Regions from separate parts of the Homo sapiens genome. Here all the other regions are linked to region 2. The links are contacts of gene promoters, found by promoter capture Hi-C in blood cells and fetal thymus (Javierre and others, 2016). All regions are on one chromosome and are shown on one strand. Each heading gives the region's core, a stretch centred on a gene start or on the middle of the fragment in contact. The rest is flanking DNA. Distances are from core to core; before and after follow the strand shown.

What was found. Contacts are between HindIII fragments. The CHiCAGO score rates a contact against its expected background, and 5 or more counts as called.
Region 1: a contact is called between the fragment with the promoter of PCDHGA1 here and the fragment with the promoter of YIPF5 in region 2, in 1 of 17 cell types (total CD8 T cells). The highest score is 5.7, in total CD8 T cells.
Region 3: a fragment that was not itself captured here is called in contact with the fragment with the promoter of YIPF5 in region 2 in 1 of 17 cell types (neutrophils); the score reaches 12.2 in neutrophils.

What each region holds. Positions count from the first base shown.
Region 1 is chr5:141,329,045-141,333,091 of GRCh38, reverse strand. It overlaps PCDHGA1 (protocadherin gamma subfamily A, 1), which reads right to left and starts at 2,578. Exons shown (of 4, transcript NM_018912.3): 1 at 1-2,578. The coding sequence starts at 2,407. It also overlaps PCDHG@. The HindIII fragment of the contact is 2,043 bases long and covers 2,065-4,047 here.
Region 2 is chr5:144,168,999-144,172,916 of GRCh38, reverse strand. YIPF5 (Yip1 domain family member 5) reads left to right here and starts at 2,258. Exons shown (of 6, transcript NM_030799.9): 1 at 2,258-2,382; 2 at 2,952-3,071. The coding sequence starts at 2,962. It overlaps KCTD16 (potassium channel tetramerization domain containing 16), which reads right to left and starts at 2,044. Exons shown (of 4, transcript NM_020768.4): 1 at 1,908-2,044. RefSeq lists an enhancer at 2,117-2,396. The HindIII fragment of the contact is 8,610 bases long and covers 1-3,918 here.
Region 3 is chr5:146,175,242-146,178,914 of GRCh38, reverse strand. LARS1 (leucyl-tRNA synthetase 1) reads left to right here. Exons shown (of 32, transcript NM_020117.11): 2 at 1,250-1,368. Among named protein-coding and RNA genes, the nearest start is that of LARS1, 5.6 kb to the left of the region's middle. RefSeq lists silencers at 1,183-1,383, 2,203-2,403, a cis regulatory region at 3,193 and an enhancer at 3,109-3,278. The HindIII fragment of the contact is 6,562 bases long and covers 1-3,673 here.

The sequences.
Region 1 (4,047 bases), core at 1,329-3,828, 2.8 Mb after region 2:
CCTTTTTGTCTTCAAGTAAAGACTGGGGTGCTGATAGAAAACCCTTTTTCTCACAGCTCTCCTGGCTGATGAGTGTGTCCGCATAGTTGGGCTGGGGGAAAATCAGGTGGCTCTTCCGCGAGTCCGCAGTGAGGGAGACCTCGTGGGAATAGGTCTGCAGGAAAGCCCGAACCCCGTCCACGCCCACAAAGTGCGAACCGGGCATGCTCGCTAAGCCGCCTCCCGAAGCCTGTAGCAGACGTGACTTGTGCCAGCGCCGCAGCCTGTGCGCCAGCAGCACGATGACGAAGGCCAGGAAGACGCAGGAGACCGCGGCCGCCGCCACCACCAGGTACAGAGTGAGGTCCGAATCGTTGGGTTTGGCGGAGGGCTCGAGGCTGCCCAGGTCGGCCAGGATGTCGGAGATCCTGTCGGCCACGGCCACGGTGAGCGTGACAGTGGCGGAGAGCGGGGGCTGGCCGTGGTCCTGGACGGCCACCACGAGACTCTGCTTGAGCGCGTCTCTGTCCAGCAGGGCTCGCGCCGTGCGCACCTCGCCCGTGTGCAGACCCACCGAGAAGAGTCCCGGCTCGCTGGCCTTGAGCAGGCGGTAGGACAGCCAGGCGTTCTGGCCCGAGTCTCTGTCCACCGCCACCACCTTGGTCACCAGGTAGCCGGGCTCTGCGGAGAGGGGCGCCAGCTCCACGCCGGTAGAACCATCTGTGGGGAGGGCGGGGTACAGGATCTCGGGCGCGTTGTCGTTCTGGTCCAGCAGGAATAGGCTGAGAGACACGTTGCTGCTGAGGGGCGGATCCCCACTGTCCCGCGCCATCACTTTCAGTTGCATGTCCCGGAACTGCTCATAGTCGAAGGATCGCAGCGCATACAGGACCCCAGTGTCGGAGTTGATGGAGAGGTAGGCAGATAGGGGTGCCCCCTGGATAGTGTCCTCTATTAGGGAGTAAGTGATTTGTGCATTCTCATTGCTGTCCAAGTCGTGGGCCCTCACAGAGAAGATGGAGGCTCCTCTGGGGTTGTTTTCGGGAATGTAGGCAGAGTAGGAGTCCTGATGGAAGACTGGGGAGTTGTCATTGATATCTGTCACTAGTAGTGAAATGTGAGTTTCAGTAGATAGAGCTGGAGTTCCTTGGTCTATTGCTGTTATTGTGATGTTGTACCCAGAGATAAGTTCTCTGTCCAGTGTTCTTTCAGTCACTAAACGGTAATAATTATCAACTAACTTTTCCAATTTAAAGGGTAAATTTCCAGGAATGAAACATGTGGTGTAGCCATTGTCTCCTGAGTCCTGGTCATGCACACTGATAAGAGCAATTATGGTCCCAGGAGGAAAGTTTTCTGGAACTGCAGTGGTGACAGAGGTGATGGTCACTTCTGGGGCATTATCATTTACATCCAAAACTTTGATCAGTACCTTAACTTTAGCCATGAGCCCCGCACCATCCTGGGCTTGAACTTCCATTGAATACATTTTGTATTCTTCGAAATCTAGTGGTTCTTTATTTGATATTTCTCCTGTGTAAGAATCTAAACGAAATATTTGGGCCACTCTGTGGTCTACATTGTGAAAGGAGTACGTTACTTCCCCATTGGCTCCCTCATCAGGGTCAGTGGCATTTACCATGAGCAGCTGAGTACCCAGCGGCACGTTTTCGGGGACATTTATATGGTATTGTGCCTGAGTAAATGCTGGAGGATTGTCATTTGCATCCACCACCTGAATGTAAATTCTGAGGGTCCCTGAACGGACTGGTTCACCCCCATCAGAAGCTGTGAGGATGAGGTGGTGGACAGCTTCTTCTTCTCTGTCTAAGGGACTCTGCAGCACCATCTCTGGATGTTGAGGCCCATCGGCTCCCTGTTGCACATCCAGGGAGAAATGAGGGTTAGAGCTGAGTTGGTAGCTCTGGAGTGAGTTCATACCCACATCAAGGTCTTGCCCAAAAGGCAATGAGACTCTGGTACCTGGAGTCGTTATTTCATTCATTTTAAACTCCAGTTCCTCTAACTGGAATTGGGGAGTGTTGTCATTAATATCAATTATTTCTACTTCAACAGGAAAAAGCTTCATTTTATCCTCAACAAGGATATTAAAACTCACGAGACACGGCATGCTCTGAGCGCAGAGCTCCTCCCGGTCTATCCTGCGCGCGGTGATCAAGCTGCCACTTCTAGGATTCAGAGCGAAAAGCGGCATCCTACCTCTGGAGACGATGCGGACTCCGCCATCTGCCAGCTCCTGGGGTTGCAGCCCTAGGTCCTTGGCGATGTTGCCTACGAAGGAACCTTTGTCTGTCTCTTCCGGCACTGAGTAGTGAATATTCCCAGCCCCAGCTTCCAACAGCAGCTCCAGAGAAAGACACAGAAGCATCAGCCTGCTGCAGCCAGTCAGCTTTTTCTGAATCTTCATGGCTCTCTCACTTCGTAGTTTTCTTCCAGTCCAGTACCAAGGGTATCGTTTCTGCTTTTCTGAGCTGAAATTAACCCAATTTTCAGGAGAATTCTGACTGGAGAGTCATCCAGAAGTAGGATTTAGGCAGTCTTGGACAGTCAGTTTTCAATCTGGCGGTTATGGAGGTTCTAAGAGGCACGAGAGCTTTTTTCTTTTTCTTTTTTTTTTTTTTCCTCCTCCTGACCTGTGTGTACTGCCTGTATCTACCAGATTAGTGAACAGCGGCGCCCACAGTCCTAACCAGTTACTGCATTCCTAGCAAATACTGAAAACCTTCTCATTAACTTGTTATTTTCTTAAGTTTTAGTCTATTGTCAAGGAAATAATTCTACAATATATGTATGAAAAAGAGAAACTATATGTTCACTTCTTTAAATGTGCCTAAATGTCACCAAATTGAAATATACAGGAGAATCCAAGTATTCCCATGTTATCTGCTTTCCAAGTTTGCTATTCAGGGAATTATAGTAAAAACCTAACATTACAATGAGGACAAAATCATCTCTCCACTTTTTCTGTAGTAAAGTTTGACCACTTGGTAATTTCCCAGGCCACATAGAGCAGCTCCCCTTTGACTGGAGGGTGAAAAGTATTAGAGGGAAAAATAATCTTTTAGAATATAAGCTAGACTTTAAAAAAATCATACCATCCCATTTCCTTCCCATTATGATTTGAATATTTATCAGAAACCTTGGGATTTTGAAGAGCATGGTTTAACCCTATCCTTATTTTTCCTCTTTTTTTTTTTTGAAGTGTCTTTGCATTATGTGGGTTTTTAAAAAATTCTTAAGATTCACCAAAGGCAATATATTTTGAAAAAAATAAAACTGGGCTCTTGGAATTTCATTGAAAAGTCACATGAATATATAATTTAGATTTCAAATTTCAGAGACAAAGTCTATGATATTATTCTTCACAGCTGAAAAGAAAAATGGTCTCATCTTTATTTTTAGATAGGCTCTTATAATATGTATTCCTCTATAATCGCACTTAATATTTTCTCCAAGAGAAGTTGGTTTTCTCTTAACAGTATTTTTTAACCAGTTGAGGATGTGGCCTTCTTTTTTTTTTAATCACTGCACTATTAGCAAAGGGTTACTAATTAAAATGTCTCAGGCTTAGAGTGACTTACTTATCTTTACCCCAAAGTTAGAGAAGCATGCTATCTGTACTCCAGAGTCTGATAATTTCAGGAACAAATTCGGCCAGCCAACCCATGGACACCATGACTGAGAAAAGTTAAAAATGAGGAAAGAAAGAAAACAATGAAAGGTCTCAATAATAGTTTTTGGAAAGAGAACTTTAGTTCTTAACCAAATCTACAGTTTCTCAGCTTCTCAAAGACAAGTACATGGAGCCAAAGAGTAGAAATTTAAAGGTGCAATAAATCATCTTCAATATTGCAAGGAAGTAACTCTTTAACAGAGAATGTAACTTTTCAGAATACACATTAATAGGCATAAACTTTTCCCCAAAGAAATTGTGAGCTAATGAGGTAAATTAAAATATACATAAGAACTAGTAAGTAAACCTGTAGAGCTCCCTACTTTCAGCAACCAAAAACACGCAGGAGTGATTTATAAAAGGATGGTAAGTAT
Region 2 (3,918 bases), core at 1,009-3,508:
TGATTCAGAAGAAATAGAAACATCAGAAAAAAACAAAAGAGACTAGAATTTTTTTAACCATAAGATTAATTAAATAGATAATGATGGATTATTGCATCTTATTGATGACTCGAAACACAGCTTCATGGATAATGTAGCTTAAAGAAAGTACAATCACAAAGTTTATCAACTGAATTAGGATATTTTTGAGAGTAAAAGGGAGCAACATTAATAATTATGCTGAGGGTAAGTAAAAATAGGCAGAAAATGGGACAATGGAATTGTCTCCAGCAAATCATAATATGTGGTCATTCTACCTGAAGTTGTGCAGATGATACCTAAACCAATAAATGCTAAAATGATTGATGAAAGGTGGTGAACACTTGAATGAGCAATTTCAGAAATTCAAAAATATAGTTAGAAAGCACAAAAATCTAGTGTTCAGTGGCAAAATAGGGTAGCTATAGTTAACAATAATTTATTGTATAGTTCAAAATAACTAGGAGTAGATTTATAATTTTCTCTACACAAAGCAATGACAAATGTCTGAGGCGACAGATATATCTCAATTACCCAGATTTCATTATTACACATTGTATGCTTGTATCAAAATGTCACATTTATCTCATAAATATGTACAACTATGATGTATCCACAAAAATAAAACAAATAAATTCGCTAATGGGTAAAAACCTCAAAGGGCAGCTGCCTGTTGGTCTCTAGAGTACAATCCTAGGTTTTTTGGTTGGGTCTTACATCCTTTTGTTGTTGCTATTTTTGTTTGGAGGGGAGTGCGTTTTCTGTTTGTTTTATTGGGGTGGGGGGTGTTGAGAGAAAAGTTTTAAGTGAAATTTTATTGTTCCTTTGGAAACTAGTCCCCAACAATGGTCTGGCTTCTTTTGTGAGGGCCTCAGGATTTTGATCCCAGAATATAATGCAGTGGCTCATGATAAATTTTATTGCTATAAACCCTGAAGAAAGTTCTGCTCATTAGTTAATAGCATCTTATTTCGAGTCACAATATTCGGGATTCCACCATCTTGGGAAAGTGATTTAACACAGGAGCCAAAGCAATCATTTTCAAAAGAAAACAATTTAAACATCACTCATCAGTTCACAATCTTCACTTCTTTTAGAACCAACACACAAATCCCACAGGATATTTCCTGGCCCCTTCCTGTTATTCCAGCCTCAACTCCTATGTGGCTCCCCTCACTTGCTGTTCCAGTCACTCAGGTTCCACTTAGAAGAGTGGTTGACAAATTCAGCTAATGTTGCCCCCACCGCCCCCAAGGACATTTGGATTTGGCAATGTCTGGAGAGATTTTTAGCTGTCACAACTTGGTGGTGATGGTGGTGGTGGTTGGTTGGGGGGAGTACTGGCATCTAATGGCTAGAGATTAGGGATGCTACTGCTAAGCATCATGCACAGGGCAGCCCCCAATAAAGAAACATCCTGACTCAAAATGTTAATAATGCTGAAGTTCAGAGCTCGATTTTCATCTTTCCTCAGACCATGCTTCCCAGATCTTGCACACATTGTTCTCTTTGCCTAAAATATTCAGGCTATTTTCCCTTATCCTCCTTTCCCGTTGCCCTTTCTTCTCTTTTCTGGTCTTCTCTAACTCCCACTCACCCTTTGATAACCCTCTTATAGTGGCTTTACAGACTCTTCTTCCCAGATGAATGTTACTCTTTCAAAGAATTATGGAACACTAAAGAATATTAGTAGCAATTTCACATGCATTTGTATGTGTTCGATTACCCCTCTCCACCACCAACTCCAGGTGGGTAGATGTCACCTAGCTTATATTTACCACAGTATCCCCAGCAGCTAGCACAGAATGAATGAATACTTAATAGCTTCACTTACAAAAGGGAAATAGGGTAACCATCTCATTAGGTTGTAAAGATTAAATAATACATACAAACACTTTAGCACAGTGCTTGAATCACAGTAAATGCTGACACCGAGGCATTGTAGGCATTGTAGTTTGTGGACAGGAGAGGGGACTCCGTCTGTCTCATTTTAGCGCCTCCCAGTCTTCCTCCATCACCTAGGTCTGAGAAACTCCTCCTCCTACCTACGAGTAAGCAGCAATTGCTACGCCTGCGCTTTCCTGGTTCCACCCCTAACCAGGCTGCCGGAAGCACTTTCCTCTTTGGCACGGGCCAGCCGCAGGTTGGGTAGATACTGCGCAAGCTCCATACTCGTGTCTCCTCCTCCCGCCCACCGGTGCCCAACCTGCTAACACGCCTGCGCGAGCGGGCGTGCCCCGGAAGCCGTTCTTTGGCCCTGTGACACGTAGCAACGGGGCTGGTTCAGGGTCTGAAACAGAGTTTGGGGGTTGTTTGGGATTAGTGAAGCTACTGCCTTTGCCGCCAGCGCAGCCTCAGAGTTTGGTGAGTGACCCAGGCCCGTGGCACAGTGTTCAGCTTCTCTCCACACCCGTGCAAATGGGCTTGTTGCCGTCTTTCGGCGCCGCGCCCTGGTCCTTTCGCTCAGACCCTCGCTCTCATTCAAGCCCTTGCCCTGACGCGGTCCCCTGCACCTCAGGCGCGACCTTCCAGATTCTGCACTTTTTCCTGGCAGGCCGCAGGCCTTATTTTGCAAGGAAGCAGTCGCCTTGTCAGCTGTAAAGCCCAGTCCTAAGGTGAAAAATCATCTTTGTTGTTATTGATATTTTAGACCGCTTATGGAACCACAACTCCCACGACCTCGCCCCTAATGGAAGGCATATCAGCTCTTTAAGGTGGAGTTGTCTTACTGGGCCGCAACTTAAAAGAATATACATTTTCTTACTCTCTCTCCGCTACCGTCGTTCAAATGCTGCGTACTTTCCGCCCCCATCCCCTCTCCGAATTACTGAAAAAATATTTGTTGTGTTTCTATTTGCTTAAGCAGACTGCCAGGAACGAATTCAGTAGAACCTTGGGCATAAGGAATATTTGCCATTTCTCTTTTATTACAGATTATTTGCAATGTCAGGCTTTGAAAACTTAAACACGGATTTCTACCAGACAAGTTACAGCATCGATGATCAGTCACAGCAGTCCTATGATTATGGAGGAAGTGGAGGACCCTATAGCAAGTAACTTTTCATCTTTGGCAATTAATTTAGTCTACATTGCAGTGAAAACACATATTTAGAATATTTGGTTCTGCCTAAAACAATATGTGAACATGTCCTTTATCAGGAGTATGATCTTTCATGCATAATCTTCTTCCTCTAGAGAGATATGTGACACTGGCTTGGCTTCGAAGGTATTGTTCTATTTAAGAGTTGAGTGTCTTCTGCAAACTCTTCAGGTGTACCATGAATGGAAAAGTAGCTTGTTTGAAGAACTGTTTTCTAGTAACAGTATTTCTGTATTTAGAAGATGATGGGAGCTTCAGGTACCTAGGAGATAGGCTGTTAGTTCATAGGACCAGTGAAAAATTAAAGTATTTTGTTAGTAGTTAAATCAGTCCAACTCTGAGACTTTTATCAGTGCTAATTGAAAGTGCTTAGTGACATTATTTAATGATGTAAGCTCCTTATTACGAATCATCAGGCGATTTTCATACAGCAGTTGATAATCATTTTTATTACTCCTCCTTCTCAAACCCTTATGGTCAGTGCCACACGTGTTATAAGTTGCATACTGAGGAGGTTGACTCAAAGCCGTTAGCCTCTGAACATTTTTTTTTAAATGATCTTTTTATAGTACCTGGTGTTTGTGACAAAAATACATGAACTGAAGGCTTTCTAGCAATCTCACCTAAAACATCATCTCCTTAGTTTCTTAGGACCCTAGAGATAATCTTATCAGCTTCCTGTCAAATAAAGGAGCTTCCTATACTAGGATTGCTTAAACTTTTTTAGATGGTTCTGGATCTCTTTGAGAATCCTATTACAACTGGGCCTCTTTCCCATAAATACATGCATTCACTCAAAC
Region 3 (3,673 bases), core at 304-2,803, 2.0 Mb before region 2:
CTATGTTGCCTAGGCTGGTCTCAAACTCCTGGCCTCAAATAATCCTCCCTCCTCAGCCTCCCAAAGTGTTGGGATTGTAGACATGAGGCACTACATCCAGCCAAGTTACTTATTAAGAAGAGGTTTTGAAGTGAGAGGGGGCAGTGGCGTTGATAGTCTAAATGAAGGTGGTTAGTAGCAGGAATGGAAAGGGATGAACAGTTGTGCAGGCTTATTATTTCTTAGAAAAGAAAATACCTTATACAATCACTGTTTTATGGAAACTTGAAAAGAGTCCAGGTATTTTTTTTTTTTTGGTGGGGGATGGAGTTTCGCTCTTGTTGCCCAGGCTGGAGTGCAATGGTGCAATCTTGGCTCACTGCAACTTCCACCTCCCAGGTTCAAGCGATTCTCCTGCCTCAGCCTCCCAAGTAGCTGGGATTACAGATGCGTGCCACCTTGCCTAGCTAATTTTTGTATTTTTAGTAGAGATGGGGTTTCACCACGTTGGCCAGGCTTGTCTCTAACTCCTGACCTCAGGTGATCCTCTCACCTCGGCCTCCCAAAGTGCTGGGATTACAGGCGTGAGCCACCGTGTCCAGCCTGTTTTATTTAAATTTCATATGAACAGTTCTTTAACAATTTTGGAGAGAAGTTCTCTATCAGTATCTTTGATATTCATGTATTTTAATTAAATAGAAACATTTGATGACAGTGTTACATTGTAGTATATAATTTTAAAAAAGCATATCAAAGCCTTTTACATATTTCAGTAATTGTTCAACCATTTCTTTGAGGTTTGAGGTACACAGGTCATGATAATCCTAATTTTTTTTTTCTGGCGGAGTCTTGCTGTGTCACCCAAGCTGGAGTGCAATGGCATGATCTCGGCTCACTGCAGCCTCCGCCTCCCTGGTTCAAGCGATTCTCCTGCCTCAGCCTCCTGAGTTGCTGAGATTACAGGTACCCGCCACCACGCCCAGCTAATTTTTGTATTTTAGTAGAGATGGGTTTCGCCCTGTTGGCCAGGCTGATCTCGAACTCCTGACCTCAAGCAATCCACCCGCCTCGGCCTCCCAAAGTGCTGGGATTACACGCATGAGCCACCGCGCCTGGCTGATAACCCTAATTTTTAATGTTCATTTAAATTTCAAGATAACCATGGAAAAATCAGTCTTTATCAGTGAGCAGCTCAGTTCTGTGAACCCAATTCTTTTTTAAAGCAAGCGTGCTGAAATACAGAGTGGATTATTCTCTTTGTGTCCAATAGGAAAGAAAAGGAACAGCCAAAGTGGACTTTTTGAAGAAGATTGAGAAAGAAATCCAACAGAAATGGGATACTGAGAGAGTGTTTGAGGTCAATGCATCTAATTTAGAGAAACAGACCAGGTGAGTAATAGTTTGTGAAGTTCTGCACATTGTATTTCTATATATATATATATATATATATATTTTTTTTTTTTTTTTTTTGAGACGGAGTCTTGCTCTGTCGCCCAGGCTGGAGTGCAGTGGCGCAATCTCGGCTCACTGCAAGCTCCGCCTCCCAGGTTCATGCCATTCTCCTGCCTCAGCCTCCCGAGCAGCTGGGACTACAGGCACCCACCACCATGCCCAGCTAATTTTTTGTATTTTTAGTAGAGATGATGTTTCACTGTGTTAGCCAGGGTGGTCTCGATCTTCTGACCTCGTGATCCACCCGCCTCGGCCTCCCAAAGTCCTGGGATTACAGGCGTGAGCCACCACGCCCGGCCCTGTGCATTGTATTTCTAAAACCGTTGGCTTTATAGTACAGAAACAGCTTGGTGGAACCCATAAGGTAGATTGTATTTATAATGCCTGAAACAGGGTGAAGGAGGTGACTTTCACTTTCTGCATATGAATTAGGATCTTTTTTCTTATGGGGTTTGTAAAGATTTTTTTTTCTAAATAAAGTTTGTTTTGTTTTGTTTTAAAGACTACAGTATTTTAAATATTTAGACAAAGAAGGATGTTTTGAGATTTTTTTCTTTGCTGACTGATAAAACGAAATTATTCTATTAGACTCATAGACGATTATTATCTCCAAAGACAGAAAATGTAAATTTTTATGTTTTTTCTTTACAAGTAAACCTAATGCTTATAGAAGTATAAATGTTGAAGATATTATTTCATAAATACTGCATTGCCTTGATACTAAAATAATACTGATTTAAAGACAAACGTAGATCATGACATGATATTTGGGAAAAACAAAAACAAAATAACTCCCCCAAACATTGCCTTAATAAATGTATGCATCAATTATAAGATATATCCCAGATTCATATATGTTGAGATGTAAGAAAATGTGCTTTTTCAGATTGAAGAAATACGGTTATAGTAACAACAATAATAGTAAGTTAACATTGAACACTTACTGTGTGCTAGCAAATGTGCTAGCAAATTTTTTTACATGTATACTCTCATTTAATCTTCTTTTTCTTTCTTTCTTTTTTTTTTTTTTTTTTTGAGACAGTCTTGCTCTGTCATCAGGCTGGAGTGCAGTGGCGCCATCTCGGCTCACTGCAACCCCCAACTCCCTGGTTAAAGCGATTCTCCTGCCTCAGCCTCCTTAGTAGCTGGGATTACAGGCATGTGCCACCACGCCCAGCTAATTTTTGTATTTTTAGTAGAGACGGGGTTTTACCATGTTGGCCAGGATGGTCTCGATTTCCTGACCTCGTGATCCGCCCACCTCAGCCTCCCAAAGTGCCGGGATTACAGGCATAAGCCACCGTGCCTAGCCTTTTTCTTTCTTTCTTTTTTTAGACAAAGTCTTGCTGTGTCATTCAAGCTGGAGTGCAGTGGCACAGTCATAGCTCACTGTAACTTCAAACTCCCGAGCTCAAGCAATCCTTCTTCCTCGGCCTTCTGAGTAGCTGGGACTACAGGCATGCGCCACCATGCCTGGCTAATTTGTTTTTTCTTAGAGACAGGGTCTTGCTATGTTGCCCAGGCTGGTCTCAAACTCCTGGCTTCAAGTGATCCTTCTGCCTTGGCCTCTCAAAGCTCTTAAGATTATAAGACATGAGCCATCACTCCTGGCCTCATTTTACCTTTTAATTTTTTTTGTTTTTGTTTTTTTTTTTTGAGACGGAGTCTTGCTCTGTCACCCAGGCTGGAGTGCAGTGGCGCAATCTCGGCTCACTGCAAGCTCCGCCTGCCGGGTTCACGCCATTCTCCTGCTTCAGCCTCCTGAGTAGCTGGAACTACAGGCGGCTGCCACCATGCCCGGCTAATTTTTTTGTATTTTTAGTAGAGATGGGGTTGCATTGTGGTCTCGATCTCCTGACCTCGTGATCTGCCTGCCTCGGCCTTCCAAAGTGCTGGGATTACAGGCGTGAGCCACTGCGCCCGGCCTTTTTTTTTTTTTTTTTGAGGTGGAGTCTTGCTCTGTTGCCTAGGCTGGGTGCAGTGGCATGATCTCGGCTCACTGCAACCTCTGCCTCCCGGGTTCAATGATTTTTCTGCCTCAGCCTCCCCAGTAGCTGGGATTACAGGTGCATGCCACCACGCCTGGCTAAGTTTTAATTTTTGTTTTTAATAGAGACGGGGTTTTGCCATGTTGGCCAGTCTGGTCTCAAACTCAAATGATCCGCCTGCCTCCGACTCCCAAAGTGCTGGGATTACACGCGTGAGCCACTGTGCCCGCCCATTATCTTTTTTTTTTTTTTAA